Regions from separate parts of the Homo sapiens genome. Here all the other regions are linked to region 7. Evidence: promoter capture Hi-C in 16 types of primary human blood cells and fetal thymus (Javierre and others, 2016). All regions are on one chromosome and are shown on one strand. The core of a region is centred on a gene start or on the middle of the fragment in contact, and the rest is flanking DNA. Distances in the headings are between cores, read along the strand shown. Region 1 overlaps TRDMT1 (tRNA aspartic acid methyltransferase 1). Region 2 has its middle 7.8 kb from the start of TRDMT1. Region 3 has its middle 29 kb from the start of VIM-AS1. Region 4 overlaps PLXDC2 (plexin domain containing 2). Region 5 has its middle 3.3 kb from the start of CUBN. Region 6 overlaps PLXDC2 (plexin domain containing 2). Region 7 holds the start of NSUN6 (NOP2/Sun RNA methyltransferase 6).

Region 1 (2,747 bases), core at 217-2,716, 1.5 Mb after region 7:
TTGAACTGTCAGAATGTTGGTACCATGGTTTGAAGAAAAAGCTGTGAATCTACCATTTTTCTAAATTTTTTATGGCTTTGCATATCCATATATGGCAAAGGCACTATATTTAAAATCCAAGGGTTTTTCGCTATGAAGACATCATCTTTTGCATTTCCTTCATGACTGTAAATTCAAAACGCTTGTGATCCCAGTATTTTAACTAAGAACAAAAACAAAATACAAATATATATACATACACTCTTATAGACATGTTTGGCATAAATTCTTCTATATGAGATATTCATTTTACCTGAAAAATTATACTTCAGAAAGAGAGTATGGCCTTATAATTTAGTCTTCTGAAAGGAAATCTCTTCATATTACTCAATTACTAAACTTTTCAAAAATAGCAAATCAATAAAGTACTGCTTGGATAAACTACATTAGCCTGAAGAAACTTAATATCATTTCTAGATGCTTATTGAGGTCACTCAATGGAATTGGCCAGAAACCATAGAAATGAATTTAAAGATCTAGAAGTAATTTTTAGGAGGATGACCTCACAATTACAAGTGTTGGATGTTATTGTAAACAAGCCTTTTGAAAATTACTTTATAAAGCAATACAGTAGGTGATTACTTCGCGGAAATCACAAATAGCTACTGGGTATTTGTGGTGGGCATAAAATTTCCAGTGACATCATTATACACGAACTCAAAAAGGGCTAGTTCTCAAGTAACTCTGACTGAAGGAAAGTTGGTGTGTCCTTGAACACTGTTAGATGATTTAAAAGGTGGCTCTGTTGATGATAGTGACCCTGATTTCAAAGAGGCACATGAGAAAGTAGAATAAAATCATTTCATGAACTTTGAGTAGAAAATATACAATATTTCCAAATGAACATGCTAAGATAGTGCTGTATAAAATATGTTGGAGGCTTCTCCTTGTGTGAAGCTCTGTGGGAGCAGGGATTCGTTGTTTTATCATCTCTGCCTGGAGCCAGAGCCAGCGCCAGCGTCAGTCATGCTCAATAAATATGTCTTGAATTCATAAATGAACCTGGTTATAAACTCACAGGAAATACTTGCTGAAAATATTTTGCAGAGCATGAATAAACACTTGACAGGGTTGGTAAAAGGTTTTCATAAGCATTGTCCCGTTCAGTAGTCAGGGGATAAATCCTTTCTCTATTTTTTAAAGATATTACCTGGAATTATATCTTTATAAATTCATAACAGATCCTAAAGATTACCTCAGATGGCTTCTTCAAGCACATATTTATTGAATACAAGCTAGCCAGACCTGTTAAATGGGATAAATACCCTTTTCCCTTCCCATGTTAACACCTAAGAGCTGTAATTCTTCATGCCAGTTAAAAAAAAGTTCAAAAAACAGAGTTTGTTTTACTAATGTAAAACATTAGTAAAATTAAGTTTACTAATGTAGAACTTAATTTTAATGTAAAAATAGTAATTAAACTGAATATAAAAAATAAAGTATGTTTAAATTATAAATTATACAATATGAAGTCATTTGACTATTTTGGCTACATCCTTAAACATTTATATAATGAAAATGGCCAGAAATCTAATTTTGGATATTTTCATGGGGAAAATAGGGGATTAACGTTTATTCTAGTTGTCTTATGTTTGGGCACATACAGTGGGTATGTGTGTAATGTATTTGTGTTTAGACACAGAAAAAGGTCAGGAAAGATGCACAGTGAACTGTTCTCAGTACCAAAACTTGTATCCTCTGCCCTGCCTCCCTATCCTCTGGCCTGTTTTGTTTTTCACTTTAACACTTATTACTGCCTATCATATTTTGTATTGTACTTGTTTATCTTTAAAATTGACTGCCTCCTCTTCTAGAATGTAAGCTCCTTGAGGGTGGGATTTTTTTGTTGCATTTTGTTCTATTTTGTTCACCACTGTATCCTTGGATCTAAAAGCACCATTGTATGTTGGATGCTCAACAAATATTTGTAGAATTAATGAATAAGCTATAGTACATGAACATTTTAAAGGTTGTTGATGATTGTCAAATTATTTTTTTAAAAGGACATACTAGTTTATATTCAGTAACGTCTCTGTGACCATAAATATGCCAATATAATATGTTAACCCATATAATTTACTAGGTGAAATTGTTATCTTAATTTTTGATTACTAGTGAAGTTGAATATTTAAAAATTATTATTATGTGCATTTCTTGTTTTTTATTTTTAGCAATATTAGTAATACATTTGTTAAAAAATTGGGACACACTGAAAATATTCATTTATTCAGTACATAACTATGGAGTGATTTTTCTTTGTTGCTTACTGTGTTGTATGGTGAGGATACAGCATTGAACGAGACAGTCATGTTCCTTTTTCCAGAGATTTTGCTCTACTGGGCAATACCAATGCTACACAAATAGAGAAGAAAATTTAAAAAACTCACCAATGATGCTAATGCATAAACACTGACATAACACTGGTGAAGACATAAACACTGGTGAAGGCTTAGATTAAAATCTTTATTCTAATGTGACCATGAACATTAAAATAAATTATAGCTTTCTTTCTTTACTTAGAATATCTTGAATATTTTCGCTTGCCATTAAATGTAGAATTTATAAACTTTTAATGGTTGTATCATACTCCACTTTATGAAAGTACAGTATTTGTTCGAATTAATCATCTATTCTGGGACATTCAGATCATTCATAAATTTGCACTATTATAAATAAAATAGCATCACTTATCCTATATATAAATATTT
Region 2 (2,700 bases), core at 22-2,521, 1.4 Mb after region 7:
TGGGCTTTTCCAATGTTTGTTTATTAAGTCCCTTTCACTTTAGGTGATAATCAAAAATTTATTTTCCAAATAATAATGCCTCATCTCTCGAGGGAACAAGTAACACGATAAAACTGCTTTTTGATTTTAAAACTGTGCAAAGATATATAAATAATGCTGTTTGTTGCATTCTTTTTTCACTCTATTCTAGGATTTGGTCCTAAAATGAAAGGAGAAAAAAAAAAAAAGACATGCAGATTCCTGACATTCTTTCCTAACCAGAATCCTGTCTAACTCCTAATATGAAATCCTTCCTCAAATATATACTAACTCCCTTTCATTTTTATTTGATGAGTTCCAGCCTATTTTTTCCTCAAAAAACTAGTGTTATCGTCTAAATTCCCTTCTTTTAAAAATATGTTTGTGTGATTTGCAAATAAATCTGTTAACCTGCAGAATGTTAACTTATGTGACTTTGAGCAAATGACATGAAGTTTTCTACTTTTTATTTGTAAAAAAGTGAATATTAAGAAAGAAAAGCCGATAGGTCTAAAATGGGTTAATAAGCATTTTAAACATTTATAAAGTTATTTGAAACATACAAGTCATTATTGTGTTATTATTATTTTCCTATTAGTCAAACATACTTTTTCTGTCTTTTGGAATGTGGTCTATTTTCATCAGCCAGTATTCTCTGAGTGACTAAACATAGTACCAATCCCATTGGAGGATTTATACATTTTAACTTAGCAGTAATTACCTTAGATGGAAATAAAACATTTTAGTCTTGATCTGCAGGAATAAGTTTAACTCTGTAAAGTAAAGGTTGACAGCCTCTAGAGCATGAGGCTAGAGGAGAAAGTTTGAAAAATGAAATGTGCTTGTATGTTGTAATATGCTCACGTAAGTGACTTGAAACTGACAAGAAACGTTTTAATAATTTTAAATAATAGGAAGTTTTTTTCTTACAGAGTGAATAGATACAGTCATGGCAGTACTATGAAAGTGTTATTACATTTTAGTTATATTTGTCATTATTGGATCATATGAGAACAATTCTAAGTGATACTGTTGTCTACCTAAACTAGTACCTAAGTAGGGTAAAATTAAAAGTCTTTGTCTTTGAATTTTTTCTGGGTTTTAGTTTATCAGTTCTGATGATGTAGCAATGCAGAAAAAAGACTATGAAGGAGTGTGTGCCTGTGTATGTGTGTATGTGTATGTGTGTTTTCCCTTTCCTGGTGTGAGTAGGTCTGATTTGTGTTCTTTGGTTACCTTGAGCAGTTCTAAATGTTCAGATAAATTACAAGAGAAAAGGAGCAAAGTACTAACAGCTCTCCAAGGTACTAAATTCTGTCTCCTATATTCTCAACATGGGTCGTGTTTTTCCACCTGAAAAGATTGAAGGCTATAATAGAAAACAATACAGAAAGACATCTTGTTAGGCAATATGCAAATTAATCTCTTGGTAGTATACCCTTTATGAAAACATACTAGGAAAATAATTCTCCCTATTGTTAGAAGAAATGGGTTCTATATTATGACAAAGTTGTTCAGAAAGTGAAAGGAAACCAGTATTTATTGTTCTAGGCACATTATTGATATATATCTATCAGTGTGTGTGTGTACATATGTATATACTGATATATATACATATATACACACTTATATACATTGTGTTTATATTGAAATGTACATATATACATTGTCTATATACACACATTGTATATATAGGTATGTACACATATAAATGATATATGTATATATTGATATGTACACATATATAATTGATATGTGTACAATTATTTACACATGATATATATATACACACACAGTTACCTTGTTATCAAATATTTCCCGTTTAATATGTGAAGAAAGGGAGTATTTGAGGCAGGATCCATGGTAATCCATCTAGTTCTAAGGACCATATTCTTTGTCCTGTATCAAGCTGTCTTTGCAGGAGTGATTGGGCAGGGGATCTGTTATCAATGTTAAACATTAGTTTCTGAGATAGTCTCTATTTTGTGCAGCTATGTTAACATTTTTGTCTGGCTTTTATAGCATGCATTACCATATCAGATCAAGTTTGCTTCATAGATCTCTGAAGTTCCCCTCAGTCCTCAGGTCAGCCTGCTCTCAGGAAGTGACATATTGTGGCTCCTATGATTGCTTTGGTTTAGATCCCTGGCCTTGCCTGGGTGTAGAGGGGCAGCAGGCAGGACCAACTGAGTCTACTTAGTATCTTTTATACTAAGTTACAGTGTAGCTGTTGCTCTACCTCTCTATCTTTGCTCCCCATTCCAGAGGAGATTTGGTTTGAACAAAAGGCTTTATCTCTAAAAATAGTTTAAAAAACAGTGTATCAAATAGTCCTTAAGATACTTTCTAGTTCTAATTTTCTGTGAAGTTAAGAAAGCAGTTTTAAAGAATGGATCCCACTATATTTACTTTGAAACATCATCTTTTAAATTTGCTGCAAAATATTTTTAAATTGAGAATTTCAGAATGAGCCTCCAAGAGCAAAATCCATGTTAAAAATCTATGAGTAGTTTGAAATGGTAAAGTATGAGGCAAACGGCATGGTTTCTATTTTATTTGGCAGAAAATGTATAATTAACTTTATTCATGATTCATGATCCTAATTTTTAAAAACATGTTTTCTTTTTATTCCTTCTGAGATAAGTGTAAGATAACATTATTCACAGTCAGAAGTCACTAGAA
Region 3 (2,700 bases), core at 122-2,621, 1.4 Mb after region 7:
ACCTGGCAGATGGCAAGTTACCGAGTCAGGATGCAAATTCACCTGTGACTCCAGATCCCCTTAGCTTAATTGCTTGCCATTGCCAGATTCTACAGAAAGCCTAAAGCTGAAACAGAATAAATTAACTACTGGGATTTCATTCTGTCACCCTAGCTGGAGCAACCATGAACTTCTGGGCTCAGGCGATCCTCCCACCTCAGCCTCCTGAGTAGCTGGGACTACAGGCATGCACCACCACACCTGGCTAATTTTAAAATTTTTGTAGAGATAGGATCTCGCTACATTGACTAGCCTGGTCTCAAACTCCAGGGCTCGAGTAATCTTCCCACTTCAGCCCCCCAAAGTGCTAGGATTGCAGGTGTGACCTACCATGTCTAACCTATGGGGGCATTTCTGATTCAGAACCCAAACACCTCTTCTCTATCATGATAAGTAGAATCTGTATATTGGGAATGGGTGTGAAGTAAATTTTTAGTATTTATTTATTTATTTATTTGGAGAGAGAGTCTCTTGCTCTGTTGCCCAGGCTGGAGTGCCGTGGTGCAATCTCGGCTAAGTGCAACTTCCACCTCCCGGGTTGAAGCGATTCTCCTGCCTCAGCTTCCCGAGTAGCTGGGACTACAGGCACGTGCCACCATGCCTAGCTAATGTTTTTTTGTATTTTTAATAGAGATGGGGTTTCGCCATGTTGGCCAGGATGGTCTTGAACTCCTGACCTCAGGTGATCCACCCACCTTGGCTTCCCAAAGTGCTGGGATTACAGGTGTGAGCCACTGTACCCGGCCAATTTTTAGTGTTTCTACATTAGGCAAACCCATCTTTCCTGGCAATTTTCTTATGTACACTTTGTTTATACTTTGAAACAACTGAAATTTTGAGAGCTATTTCCCCTCACATAGGAAGCCAATTGACAGGGGCCACCTCAATGCTCTTGACCTCTAGTGGGGATTGGACCCCACAGATTCTTGCTACTCAGTGCTGTCCCAGGCCAGCATATCAATATCTCTTGGGAGCTTGCTGGAGATGCAGTATCTCAGGCCCCGCCCTTGGCAGCTGAAACAGAACCTTCATTTTAACAAGATTCCCTAGTGAGTCGAGTGCAAATTAAAGTTTGAGAAGTACTCTCCTAAATCACAGCTTGGTCAATCAAGAAGCAAGTGGTCCCAGGATGTTTCTATCCTTTAAATGTAACAACAATCCCATTACTGAGTTTTTTTGTTTCTTTTATTTGTTTGTTTTTGTTTTTTTTTTGAGATGGAGCGTTGCTTTGTCGCCCAGACTGGAGTGCAGTAGTGCCATCTCAGCTCACTGCAACCTCCACTTCCCAGGTTCAAGCAATTCTCCTGCCCCAGCCTCCTGAGTAGCTGGGGCTACAGGTGCATGCCACCACACCCAGCTAATTTTTGTATTTTTAGTAGAGATGGGGTTTCACCATGTTGGTCAGGCTTGTCTCGACTACCTGACCTCAGGTGATCCACCCGCCTCGGCCTCCCAAAGTGCTAGGATTACAGGTGTGAGCCACCGCGCCCGGCAATTACTCAGTGTGTAATGTGAACCACAGGCACTTTGAGTTCGTGGTCTCTAATTACTGACAGAGTCATTCAGGGCAGGTATCCTCAATTCTCATTTCCAGCTGAGAAAGAATGAGATTTGGGAGACAAAGTAACTTGGTAGAAATTACACAGCCAATAAATGAAAGTTCCTGGATGTGAACACAGGTTTATCTTCTGACTGAGCAATATTGCTTCCCATTCTTCTTGCTGTTTTTCAAAGCACCGTTTTTGATGAGGTAGGTCCTGGGGTCATAAAGAGAAAGGAATTTTGTTCATTTTACTCTTCCCTGGACTGTGTGAAATATTTCAGGTACAGAGACTAAGTCAATGATTATCTATCTGGTGGATTAAAGAACAGACAATTCAGAAATGCTCTTGATGGTCATAAGTTAATTTTAAAAATTTATTTAGAAGGGATCCTCAGGAATGCCTAATTGTATCCACTGGATTTTAATACTTTCAATTCCGTGCAACTAAATGTGGCCCTTGGAAAAGTCCTGTGACTTCCGAACCCACCAGTAGATGTCAGTATTTCTTTGGACACCACAATGGCCTCTCAAGTTTTTGCCCTACCAGGCTCTTCACAAGATCCGTTGTGTCTGAAGAAGGAGCGGCGACTTTTTGTCTACATTTTTACTTGGTTGGAACAATCTTCTGAGATATCTTCAAGGGTGTTAGTGACCCCAAGGCAGTACTCTCTTGCCCTCTCTCTCTCCCTGTCTCTCTCTGTCTCTGTATGTGTGCGCCTCTTTCCTTCTCTTTCTCTCCCTATTTCCTCTCCCCATACTCCCACACTGACATTTTTTAATGAAAAAGATGATTTTCTCCCATGAAGATATTTCTGTGCAGATGTTAGAAAAGGACATTCGAAGACACTAAAGTCAGATTTTGTCAAGCCCTCTGGCTGGTAAACCAAGCAGATCCCACTCTCCAGGAATGAAGCAACTATTACGTTGGGGCGAAAGTTATTGCTATTACTTTTAATGGCAAAAAAACACGATTTTTTCCCCCAACCTAATACTACCATGCTAAATGCCAATTCAAAAAGGATTGCCCTTTGAAGAAAAAAAGGCAGAAGTAAGCAGGAAGGATAGCTCACTTGGAGTATCATCCGAGTTAGCTTAGGTAAAGACTGTAGCTTTCTACT
Region 4 (2,700 bases), core at 119-2,618, 1.4 Mb before region 7:
TCTATCGTGTGTTACAAAATTGCTAAATTTTGTAAGGTTTCCAGACAGTGTCCCAGAGTCCCAAAATGTCATCATGGGACAGTCTTTAGAGAGATTCTGAACAGCACCAAAAAATGATAGGTATAGCCATGGTGATCAAGCGGACATCCCAAGTTATTTACATGCTATTCTACTTCCCAGACATCAGTGGTTGAGCCAGCCTTTAATAGGAGCAGTTAGAGATGACAATGGATTAGGTTCCTAAACACTCCTTGAGACCCCTTCTATGCTTTATGGAGAGAAATCTAATGAATGAGGTCATCAAAGGAAACAACAGACAAACTAAAAAGGCAGCACAGGACTTAAAGAGAAAGCACTTTGAAAAGAAATAAAGGAGGAAATGTAAGTGGGGGAAAAATGCAGTATTAGCATATGCTATCTATGTAGCATTTTCTATGAAACAGGTATCATTAACATATGTTAATTAATTTAGTCATCACAACAAATTTATGCACCAGGTATTTTTATTGTGCTATTTTATAGGCAAGGAAACTGACATCAGAGAGATTAAGTCATTTGCTGAAGATCATACAGTTACGATTGCCTTGGCTTATGAACTGAAGTATTCAGATTCAAAAGTCTATTTATCTTAACCTGGAAGCCTAACTTCTTCTCTAAGAAAATGCAACTCAATTTCTGGCTTAAGTAGGAATTGAGGGAACTCTTTTGAACTCATTTCTGAAATGGCCAGGGTCTAATGTCAGTCCTGCACTATTTACTATTTCTTTCCTTTACTTTCCAGGATTCGACAATGTTAGAGCATCTGGCATATATTGTTACTTTATTAATTGCACAGAGTCACTTAGACACCCTTTATTTTCAATTGGGTGATGTATTTCAGGATCTGTGTAAAATTGCTATTTATCTGAATTACTGCTGCAGTGACTAGGAAAGGCTACAAGCAAAAATATCATTGCCAGTGTTTCCAATAAAGCCTGGATGTGCTGGAAGAAGATGAATGATGCTTTCCTGGTATAAACATCCGTAAGGGAGTATTCTAGCACTAGCAATCAGTGGACACTTCAGTGGCTGTTATGGCAATGGAAGGGGATGAGCCTGGAGACCATGTTTTTCACCCACACCCTTGTCTCAGCTGATCCACCTTCCCCCATTCCTGTCCTAAAATCATGACTTATCCATCATGTGCCAATGCTCTGCTCAGTTTTGTTTACATCTAATTGTTCTCCTTCATTCTACCCATATTTCTGTCTCTTGTATTTTTCTTGCTGATTCCTATTGAGTCAACTCTTGCTCCTGGGTGCTTTCTCTCTGGGTCTCCTACTGGCTTAATTTCCAATTATGCTTCCCACCCCTGCCACAAGGAGCCAGTGCTAATGAAATAAAGCATGTATGGACAGACATGCAGGAGAAACAAGTGGTTGTGAATATGAAATTCGTGAAAGACAAAACAACATAGCTTGGCGCAGTGTCTCACACCTGTAATCCCAGCACTTTTGGAGGCTGAGATGGGAGGATTGCTAGAGGCTAGGAGTTTGAGATCAGCCTGGACAACATAATGAGACTCCATCTCTACAAAAAAATCTAAAAATTGGCCAGGCATGGTGGTGCATGCCTGTAGTCCCAGCTATTTGGGGAGCTGAAGTGGGAGGATCACTTGAGCCTAGGAGGTCAAGGCTGCAGTGAGCTGTGATTGTGCCACTGCACTCCAGCTTGGGTGACAGAGTGAGATCCTGTCTACAAAATAAAGAAATAAATATATAATAATGGTCAAGCTACTGAATCTACTGCTGACACTAGACAGTTTGAGGGAGGAGTAAGTTATCAAAGAAGACAGCTCAGATGAACTCTCAGGTTTTTGGAGGTCTATCTCAGAGAATTATTCAGATTCAGCAGATCAGACATCACGCAATTCATCTTTCTCTCTAGGAATCCTTGAGACTTGAGTTTGTAACTTTAAATCATTGAAGCAAGTTGGAATGAATTTACTTTCATCCAGCATCTATCTCTTTAGTATCTTCCATAACACATAGATCTCCAGATTACCATAACCTGTGATCTCTGTTAATAATAATAATAATACAAAACAACTCCATTCACCTTCTCCCTAGATGCAGAAAGTTAATGGATACACCATGCTTTGTTTTATGGGGTTATACACTTGAAAGAAGATGTTGTTGGTATTTACAAATCAATCATCATGAGTAATAACTATCTTCCTCTCCTAAAAAGCCTTTTATTCCTGTTATTAATCAAGTCCCTATAAAGAGTATGAAATATTATTTGGGACTACAATTAAAATATTACCATTTGAAAGCCAGAACAAAAAAGGAGCAGGGAGATTTGGTAATATATTTCCTGAAAAGCTAATGAAGATAAAATGCATTAATATTTTTAAAAAATCTCTCTTAGTGGGAATTTAAACAGAAAAAAAGCTAATGATTATTGGCCAGATATAGGAAACTACTCTAAGTTTGAATTTTAATATACCATACCTCAAAAAGTAAGGTATTTTTTTTTGGGAGGGAAACTGGTGAACTAAGAGACAAAGGAAGAAGGGAGATTTACATTTTACTTTTGCCTGTTTGACTTGTTAAATGTCCACGTTATTAGTTTTTCAGATATGTACAGGTATTACTTAATAAACATTTTAATCTTTTACGTAGCAAATGAAATAAAATAGAGCTAAAATTTAAACAGCTT
Region 5 (2,700 bases), core at 110-2,609, 1.5 Mb after region 7:
GTATGGTATCAGCAACAATGCAAAATACATTTGCATGTGTCTTGCTGAAGAAGTCAAAGAGAGTAAAGGCTGATGAGTGGAAATCAACAGTACAGCAGACACCATTATAAACTTAAAGTCTACAACATGCCATTAATGTTATCAGTGTTCTGACCTAAGGGTTTTATTTATTTTTTATTATTTTATTTTATTTTTATTTTTTGAGACAGAGTCTCACTCTGTCACCCAGGCTGGAGGGCAGTGGCATGATCTCAGCTCACTGCAAGCTCCGCTTCCCGGGTTCAAGCCATTCTCCTGCCTCAGCCTCCTGAGTAGCTGGTACTACAGGCGCCCACCACCACGCCCAGCTGATTTTTTGTATTTTTAGTACAGACGGGGTTTCACCGTGTTAGCCAGGATGGTCTCCATCTCCTGACCTCGTGATCCACCCGCCTCGGCCTCCCAAAGTGCTGGGATTACAGGTTTGAGCCACCGCGCCGGGCCCTAAGGGTTTTATTTTAATGAATGCGTACAAATGTGCATAAGGGTTCCTTAGGTAAACTCTCCAACTAGGTGCCCTCCTCCAAACACTGAGCAGCCCCCAGAGCAGATCCTCCCTGTCCGAGGGCTCCATTGCTAGCACCCCATATAAAAGCTTCCTCACCCTGGTTACTCAGTTCCACTCAAGGATGATACCGTTTCTTTTGGATTGCCTGCTCTTCAAAACTCTTGGATTTAAATGGAATCTTGCTCTCCACCCACCAATGTGGAGTTGTTCTGTGCTTCCTGGAGTCACCTTGCCTTGTTCTTAGACATCAGTTACCTTTGCCTCACACCTTTAACTCCAGGTCAGCAATCGTCTTCCTCACTCAAAGTCCCCAATTCATCTCTCTGCTCTGAAATCCTCTTTTATAGGAGAAATGATCAGACACCCTTGCTTCTCCTTGTACCCAAGATTATAAAGACAGCTGTGAATTCTTTTTGTCATTTTTTCTTTTAAGGAATCTAAACCCAAGAGAGGATACAGGAGGGTGAGGATTATTATATTTCTTTACATGATATTGATAACAGCTTATATTTAATGAACACTTATTTTGTGCCAGTAACCTAATGTGCTAAACATTTTACATAACTTCAGTGCTGTTATTATCTGTCTGCTGATGAAAAAACAAGGTTCCATGGTCAGTAAGTGATGGAGTCAGACTTTGAACGCACATAAATGAGCTTCAGGCCCGTGTTCTTAACCTTCAACCATGTGGTCTTCCCTAGACTGGAGGCTTCAGAGGGAAGAATCTGCAATTTACTACATTTCGTGTTCCTATCATCTTATAGATGGCTAATATGTAAAGGGCACATGCAGAATATTAGGGGAATGCATTCTAGATTAGGGAAGAGACAGGAGTTTTACTAGTCAATGAAAGATAGAATTTCAGGTCTATAGAATGTTTACCTTGGGAGAGGAGAAGAAGAGAGGTTATCTACCATATAGATCTGAAGGTCATAGATTCTAAAACTACTTTAATTCATCTTTCCTGAAGTATTTCTGAATAGAGTAAGTAAACAGAATGAGTGCCAATCCCTTGGAAACAGCAATTGATTTTTATATTGCTTTTCACAGAGTCAACATATGCAGACAGTCTGACTTGCCTATTGATCTGAGCTAGAGTTGAGTGAATGAGCTGGATGTAAAATTCCCTAACTCATCACTAAAAGTCAGTCAGACCTTGAACGACGGTTACTTTCTTTTTTTTTTCTAACATGGGTGACAATGAGCAATTGAATGCTTAGATTGGGAGCTGAGAGATTATCTTTACTTTGTTGAGTAATAAACACATTAATTAACAAAACAGGAAAATCCTGTCAAAGAGGAAGTCCTTATTAAGATCATGCTGGAGGCCTTTTCTATTGCACTGGAAAGATTAGCTGAGTTCAGTGGTCTTTAAGAAAGTATAATCATGAAAATAGTTACGTCCAGAGCTCAGAGAGTTTGAATTATCCTTTTGATTGGAAGATTCTAGCCCAGACTATTTTATCCTATTCTAAACTTGCCAAAAATTTCATATTGTCAAACTTTCCCTCCACCCCATGCCAAGTTGTTAAGCTTTCAAATAAACAAATTTATTATGATAAATTTCATCTCTATTGATGTAAAGGCTATTGGATATCTTTTCTTAGCATTTAGTTTAATACCAAATTAATATTTTGTATCATCCTGATATATGAAGACATTTACAAATATAGAAGAGAAATAATTTTAATCAGTTTTATTGTGCTGTAATTTACATCTGCCAAAGATTATCTATTTTAACTATACAGCTTTATGAGTTTTGACAAATTTATACAGTCATGCAACCACAATCACAATCATGATACAGAACATTTTCATCACCCTTAAATATTCCCTCATGCCTCCTTGCGATCAATCTCCTCCCCAACCCCTGGCCTCTGATTTGTTGTCTATCAATCAGTGTAGTTTTGGCTTTTTTAGATTTTCATATGGAATCATGTGATATAGAATCACTTAGGAAGTAGTCTTTTGTGTCTTATTGTTGTCCTTGAAAAATATTTTTAAGCAAGCAAAATGACTTGCCACAGGTTGGCAGAAAAATATTTGCAAAATACGTATTTGAAAATTCTTGTATCTAGAATATATGAGCTCTTACAATCAATAAAAGACAAACAACAAAATTTTAAAAAATAGGCAAAATATCTAAACAGACA
Region 6 (2,761 bases), core at 110-2,609, 1.5 Mb before region 7:
AGAGAAAGAGAAAAGGCAAAAGCTTATTATGCATAAACAATAACAGAAAACTTCCCAAATCTGGAGAGAGAAATGAACGTTCAGATCCATGACGCCCAAAGAATCCCAAGTAGTTTAGACATAAAGAGATCATCACAAAAACATGTTATTAACAAATTCTCTGAAGTCAAAGACATAGCGAGAAATTTGAGAGCAGCAAGACAAAAATCTACTCATGACATGAAAGGGAAGGTCTGTAAGGCTACCAGGGTGTTTCTCAGCAGGAACCTTATAGGGCAAAAGAGAGACAAATAATAAATTCAAAGTGTTGAAAGTAAACCAGCAATGACCAAGAATACTATAACTAGCCAAGTTGACTTTTACAATGAAAAAGAGAGACAGAATTTCCCAGACAAACAAAAGATGAGGGAGTTCATCACCATTAGGACTACCTCACAAGAAATGGTAAAGAGAACCTTTAAGTTGAAATGAAATGATAGAAACTAACAACGCGAAAATATATGAAAGAATTAAACTCACTGTAAAGGTCAGAATGCAATCACACTCAGCTATTCTTATATTCCAATAGTGCTCCACAACTCACTTTTAACTCTAGTATAAAAGTTTAAAGACAAAGGTATTGGAAATATAGCTATAATAATTTATTAATGAATACATAATAAAAAAGATAAAATTGTGAAGTCATCTACAAAAAATATGAGAAGACAAGTTAAAGTGTAGTTTTTGTATGTGGAGGAAGTTACATTGTTATCAGTTTAAAACATATGCTATGACTTGAAGATGTCTTATGTAAGCTTAGTGGTAACCACGAAGGAAAAATTGATGGTAGACATAAAGATAAAGAAGTTAAAGCAAATCACGACAAAAAATTATCAAATCAAAAAGAAGGCAACAAGAGAGGAAGAAAAGAAGAAAAGGGCTATAAAATAGAAAACAATAAAATGGCAATAGTAAATCTTTACCTGTAAATAATTACTTTAAATGTATGGATTACATTCTTCAATCAAAAGACATATAGTGGTTGAATGGATTTTTTTTTTTTAAAGATCAAACTATATGTTCTTTACAAAAGACTTAACCTTAGCTTTAAGGACACTCATATGCTGAAAGTGAAAGGATGGAAAAAGATAGTCCCTGCAAAAATAGTCCAAAAGAGAGCAGGAGTAGCCGTAACTATATCAGACAAAAGAGATGTTAAATCAAAAACTGCCACAAGAGACAATGATAAAGATATCAATTCATCAAAAGGACATAAAATTGTAAATAGTTATGCCCTCAATATTAAGAACATAAATATATAAAGCAAATATTAAGAGAGCTAAAAGGAGAAATAGTTCACCAATACAATAATAGTAGAGGACTTCAATATTGCCACCTTCAGCAGTGGATAGGTCATCCAGACAAAAACAATCCATAAGTATACAGAAGACACGAACAAGACTGAAGACCAAATGAATTTAACAGAGATATATAGAACGTTTCATCCAACAGCAGCAGAATATACATTCTTTACAAATGCACATGGAATATTTGTTAGGATAGATCCACGTTAGGTCAAATAAAAGTCTTCACAGATTTAAGAAGATTTAAGTAATACCAAGTATCTTTTCAGACCACGATGAAATGAAATTAGAAATCAATAAGAGGAGGAAAATTGGAAGCATTTGCAAATATGTGAAAATTAAATAACATAGTTCTGAACAACCAATGAGTCAAAGAAGAAATCAATAGTGATCTTAAAAGATATCTTGAGACAAACAAAAATGCAAATATAACTTTCCAAATTTTATGGGATGCAGCAACAGCAGCCCTAAGGGGTAAGTTTATAGCAATAAATGCCTACATGAAGAAAAAAGAAAGATTTCATAAAAGCAACCTAATATGACACCTCAAGGAACAAGGAAACAAGAACAAACTAAGCTTAAGAAAGGATATAATAAAGAGTTAGCAGAAGGAAGGAAATAAAAAAGATCAGAATATATATGAATGATATAGGGACTAGAAAAAACAATACAAAAGATTAATGAAACTAGGAGTTGGGTTTTTTTTCTAAATAAACAAAAGAGTAACTTTTAGTTAAACTAAGAAAAAATAGAATAATAAAACTGTAAGTGGCCGGGTGCAGTGGCTCACGCCTGTAATCCCAGCACTTTGGGAGGCTGAGGCAGGTGGATCACCTGAGGTCAGGAGTTCAAGACCAGCCTGACCAATATGATGAAACCCTGTCTCTATTAAAAATACAAAAATTAGCTGGGCATGGTGGCATGTGCCCATAATTCCAGCTACTCGGGAGGCTGAGACAGGAGAATTGCTCGAACTCAGGAGGCGGAGGTTGCAGTGCACTGAGATTGCACCATTGCACTCCAGCCTGGGCAACAAGAGTGAAACTCTGTCTCAAAAAAGAAAAAAAATTATAAGTGAAAGAAGAGATTACAATTGATACCATATAAATATAAAATATCAGAAGAAACTACTATAAAAATTATATGCCAACAAATTCGATAACCTAGAAGCAGTGTATAAATTTCTGGAAACATACATATTACCACGTCGGAACAGAACAGTACAGAAACACTAAATAGAATAGAAAATATGGATAAAAGAAACCAGAACAAAAAACAGAATAGAAAATCTGAAAAAAAAAAAATAACAAGTAAAGAGACTTAATCAGTAATCAAAAACCTCCAAACAAAGAGATGCTCAGGACCTCATGGCTTTACTGGGGTAAATTCTACCAAACATTTAAAGGATATTTAACACC
Region 7 (2,700 bases), core at 60-2,559:
TAGGAACCTTGATTTACTCTTTAAAACAGAGAAAATGGGCTGGGCGTGGTGGCTCACGCCTGTAATCCCAGCACTTTGGGAGGCTAGAGAGTCAGATCAGTTGAAGTCAGGAGTTTGAGACCAGCCTGGCCAGCATGGTGAAACCCCGTCTCTATTAAAATTACAAAGATTAGCTGGGCCTGGTGGCACATGCCTGTAATTTTAGCTACTCGGGAGGCCAAGGCAGGAGAATCTCTTGAACCAGGAGGTGGAGGTTGCAGTGAGTCGAGATCCCACCATTCCACTCCAGTCTGGGCGACAGAGACTCAAAAAAAAAAAAAAAAAAAGAGCAGAGAAAATGATAAACAACTTGCAGGTTGTTGTGTGGTATAATGGTCATTCATTATTTTCTACTCTTTCTGGTAAAGAGTTGGTGTGTCATGGAAAGTACCTGTTCTATGTGTGTGTGTCTGTGTGTATAATTCGGTGTGAAAATTAAAGAGAAAAAAACAATAAAAAACCCTTTCCTATACTTATGTGTAAATTACCATGGTGTGCTGCAAAAAACATATGTCAAGGTGATAGAATTATTTTGACTTTCCTGTACAGTTATAAAATGACTCAGTGAGTTTGGTTAGATATCCTCGTTCTTTGAATCTATATCCTTGTCTGCTTATGATGAAAAAAAAGAAAAAAAAATAATGGCGAGGGTCTTCCAAACTCTAAAGAATATGTCAACTATGATACAAGTAGCAGTTAGCCTTATAACTAACTGTAAACACTGTCTGTGGGTTTTAAGTTTTACCTGAGCATTGGATATTAACAGACCATTAGCCCAACTTTCAAAAATATGAACCCTATGAACTTCACAACTGAAGTCAGATCTGTATGCCTGAGAGAGGTAAAATCATGTCATGAAATCAAACGGTGGCTGATGCGCCCAAATTCTGGCCTCATCCTCTAACTGGAGGACATCTGGCAGGACAGCAACTGGGCTGTGCCTTTTTTCAGTCCAGCAACATCTTCCACTCAACCCACGCCATTTGGCTGTTTCCCCATTGCCCCTGGCACCTAGCCCTCCGGTACCGGGAACTAAATATCTTTGACCATCCCGCCCGCGGGGTCTGCCTACTTAACCTGAGGCAGGTGAAAGAGCCTCACGCAGGGTTAGGAACCTCCGGGGGCGTGGCGTAGCGTAACGCAGTGTTGGGGAAACTTGCGGCTGTGGATTGGGGGACCGGAAAGGGAGGGGTGGGCCGCAGGCGCCGGACGTGACGTAAGCCGGAAGCGACTTTCCGCCGAGAAATAGGGGGCGCGTGTTTGGAAATTGATAGAAAAGATAAAGGGACCGAGCTGCTGTCAGCCTGGCTTACTGATCTGCGTCCGTTTCACCACGGATTCAGTTACTAAGCATTTTTTTCTTTTTTTGGTTCTTTGCAACGTGAGTGGCATTGGCTCAGTGATTTCCATGAGCATCTCTACCAGAAAACATTGCCTCGATGAGGTGTGGTGGAAGCCCGGCAGCCCCTTCTAATCGGCTAGGCTTGAGAAAGCGTGTACCTCTGCATTTCCGAAATTAACTCAGCGTGATCGGCAAGATTTTCCTCAGCATCTGGTGTCAAGACACTCGTCACTATTAATTCGGAAAGAAAAAAAAAAACAAAACACCGTTTTCCAGCATTTCTCTTGGTGGAGAACTAAACAACAGGAAAAATGTCTATTTTCCCTAAGATATCTTTGAGACCTGAGGTTGAAAACTATCTTAAGGAAGGCTTTATGAATAAGGAGGTAGGTCAAGTAAAGATGTTAGTTGATATTTTGCAAAAACTCAAATATTCGCACACTCGAGAGAAATAGAAATAAGTATAAAGGGAAATCTTGACAGCCGTCGTTCCTTACTACTTGTCTATCAAGTGTAAAAATACCAATATGTTTCTACAGGTATTAAAGCTTACTGAGATACGAAGTGAATAAGGTATATGTTTTAACATTTAGGAGTGGAAAAGAAGGGAAAAAAGGCATGTGCCTGTCAGGCATGGCACAAAGGGTTACAAGGATGAACAAGAAAAGGTCCCTGTCTTCAAGAACTCGAATCGAATTTTAAAAGAGCGCTGGCTCTGGCACTCAGGTGAAAAGGTTTCTGTAATTTGTTGAGTGCCTCTTAAATGCCAGCAGTTGTGCTAGGAGATTTGCATCTTTAATCTTCACAATCTTTTTTTTCTTAGAGGTTTTTCCTCTTTTAATAGACTTGAGCAGAAAACTGCTCAAGGAATTGTGTAACTGATCCAAGTTGACACAGCTATCAAGTAACTATTGAAATCTGGAGGGAAAGAGTTCAGGTGTAATGAACAAAGGTACAGCTTTTGAATCTCAGGCACATGATTTGCATTCTAGTGCTTTGTAAATTACGTGGCTTAACCTAGATTTTTCTCTTCTGTGAAAAATTGAGAATGGTTAAAAATATCTTGCCAGGTTGTTTTAGGATATTAAACGTAAGTGAATACAACTAGCATTGTTTTGGCATGTAAGTCCTCAAAAAATGTTAATTTTATTTGCTAAAGTCCTCAGTAAATGTTGATTATCTTTGATTGCAAAGCCTGTTGTCTATTCCATTTTACCATGCTGCCTCTAAGCAACTTTGTTTTTTTTCAAATCTTTAATTTTTTAGTCAAGTTAAAAATATTTTACCAGGTTGTTTTAGGATATTAAACGTAAATGAAA

What was found. The method cuts DNA at HindIII sites, captures the fragments that hold promoters and counts their contacts. A CHiCAGO score of 5 or more calls a contact.
Region 1: a contact is called between a fragment that was not itself captured here and the fragment with the promoter of NSUN6 in region 7, in 4 of 17 cell types (total B cells, total CD8 T cells, non-activated CD4 T cells and 1 more). The highest score is 8.6, in total B cells.
Region 2: a fragment that was not itself captured here is called in contact with the fragment with the promoter of NSUN6 in region 7 in 7 of 17 cell types (total CD4 T cells, total CD8 T cells, non-activated CD4 T cells and 4 more); the score reaches 12.3 in total CD4 T cells.
Region 3: a fragment that was not itself captured here is called in contact with the fragment with the promoter of NSUN6 in region 7 in 1 of 17 cell types (non-activated CD4 T cells); the score reaches 5.5 in non-activated CD4 T cells.
Region 4: a fragment that was not itself captured here is called in contact with the fragment with the promoter of NSUN6 in region 7 in 1 of 17 cell types (monocytes); the score reaches 6.3 in monocytes.
Region 5: a fragment that was not itself captured here is called in contact with the fragment with the promoter of NSUN6 in region 7 in 1 of 17 cell types (activated CD4 T cells); the score reaches 7.3 in activated CD4 T cells.
Region 6: a contact is called between a fragment that was not itself captured here and the fragment with the promoter of NSUN6 in region 7, in 1 of 17 cell types (monocytes). The highest score is 6.3, in monocytes.

What each region holds. Positions count from the first base shown.
Region 1 is chr10:17,186,713-17,189,459 of GRCh38, reverse strand. The region is part of intron 1 of TRDMT1 (tRNA aspartic acid methyltransferase 1); the gene reads left to right. Among named protein-coding and RNA genes, the nearest start is that of TRDMT1, 14 kb to the left of the region's middle. The HindIII fragment of the contact is 6,870 bases long and covers 1-2,747 here.
Region 2 is chr10:17,208,118-17,210,817 of GRCh38, reverse strand. No RefSeq gene overlaps it. Among named protein-coding and RNA genes, the nearest start is that of TRDMT1, 7.8 kb to the right of the region's middle. The HindIII fragment of the contact is 6,585 bases long and covers 1-2,700 here.
Region 3 is chr10:17,257,267-17,259,966 of GRCh38, reverse strand. No RefSeq gene overlaps it. Among named protein-coding and RNA genes, the nearest start is that of VIM-AS1, 29 kb to the right of the region's middle. The HindIII fragment of the contact is 8,535 bases long and covers 1-2,700 here.
Region 4 is chr10:20,074,244-20,076,943 of GRCh38, reverse strand. The region is part of intron 4 of PLXDC2 (plexin domain containing 2); the gene reads right to left. Among named protein-coding and RNA genes, the nearest start is that of PLXDC2, 260 kb to the right of the region's middle. The HindIII fragment of the contact is 4,019 bases long and covers 1-2,700 here.
Region 5 is chr10:17,131,752-17,134,451 of GRCh38, reverse strand. No RefSeq gene overlaps it. Among named protein-coding and RNA genes, the nearest start is that of CUBN, 3.3 kb to the right of the region's middle. The HindIII fragment of the contact is 1,446 bases long and covers 637-2,082 here.
Region 6 is chr10:20,131,052-20,133,812 of GRCh38, reverse strand. The region is part of intron 4 of PLXDC2 (plexin domain containing 2); the gene reads right to left. Among named protein-coding and RNA genes, the nearest start is that of PLXDC2, 320 kb to the right of the region's middle. The HindIII fragment of the contact is 1,126 bases long and covers 797-1,922 here.
Region 7 is chr10:18,650,196-18,652,895 of GRCh38, reverse strand. It overlaps NSUN6 (NOP2/Sun RNA methyltransferase 6), which reads left to right and starts at 1,309. Exons shown (of 11, transcript NM_182543.5): 1 at 1,309-1,767. The coding sequence starts at 1,693. RefSeq lists an enhancer at 1,070-1,169. The HindIII fragment of the contact is 3,002 bases long and covers 1-1,931 here.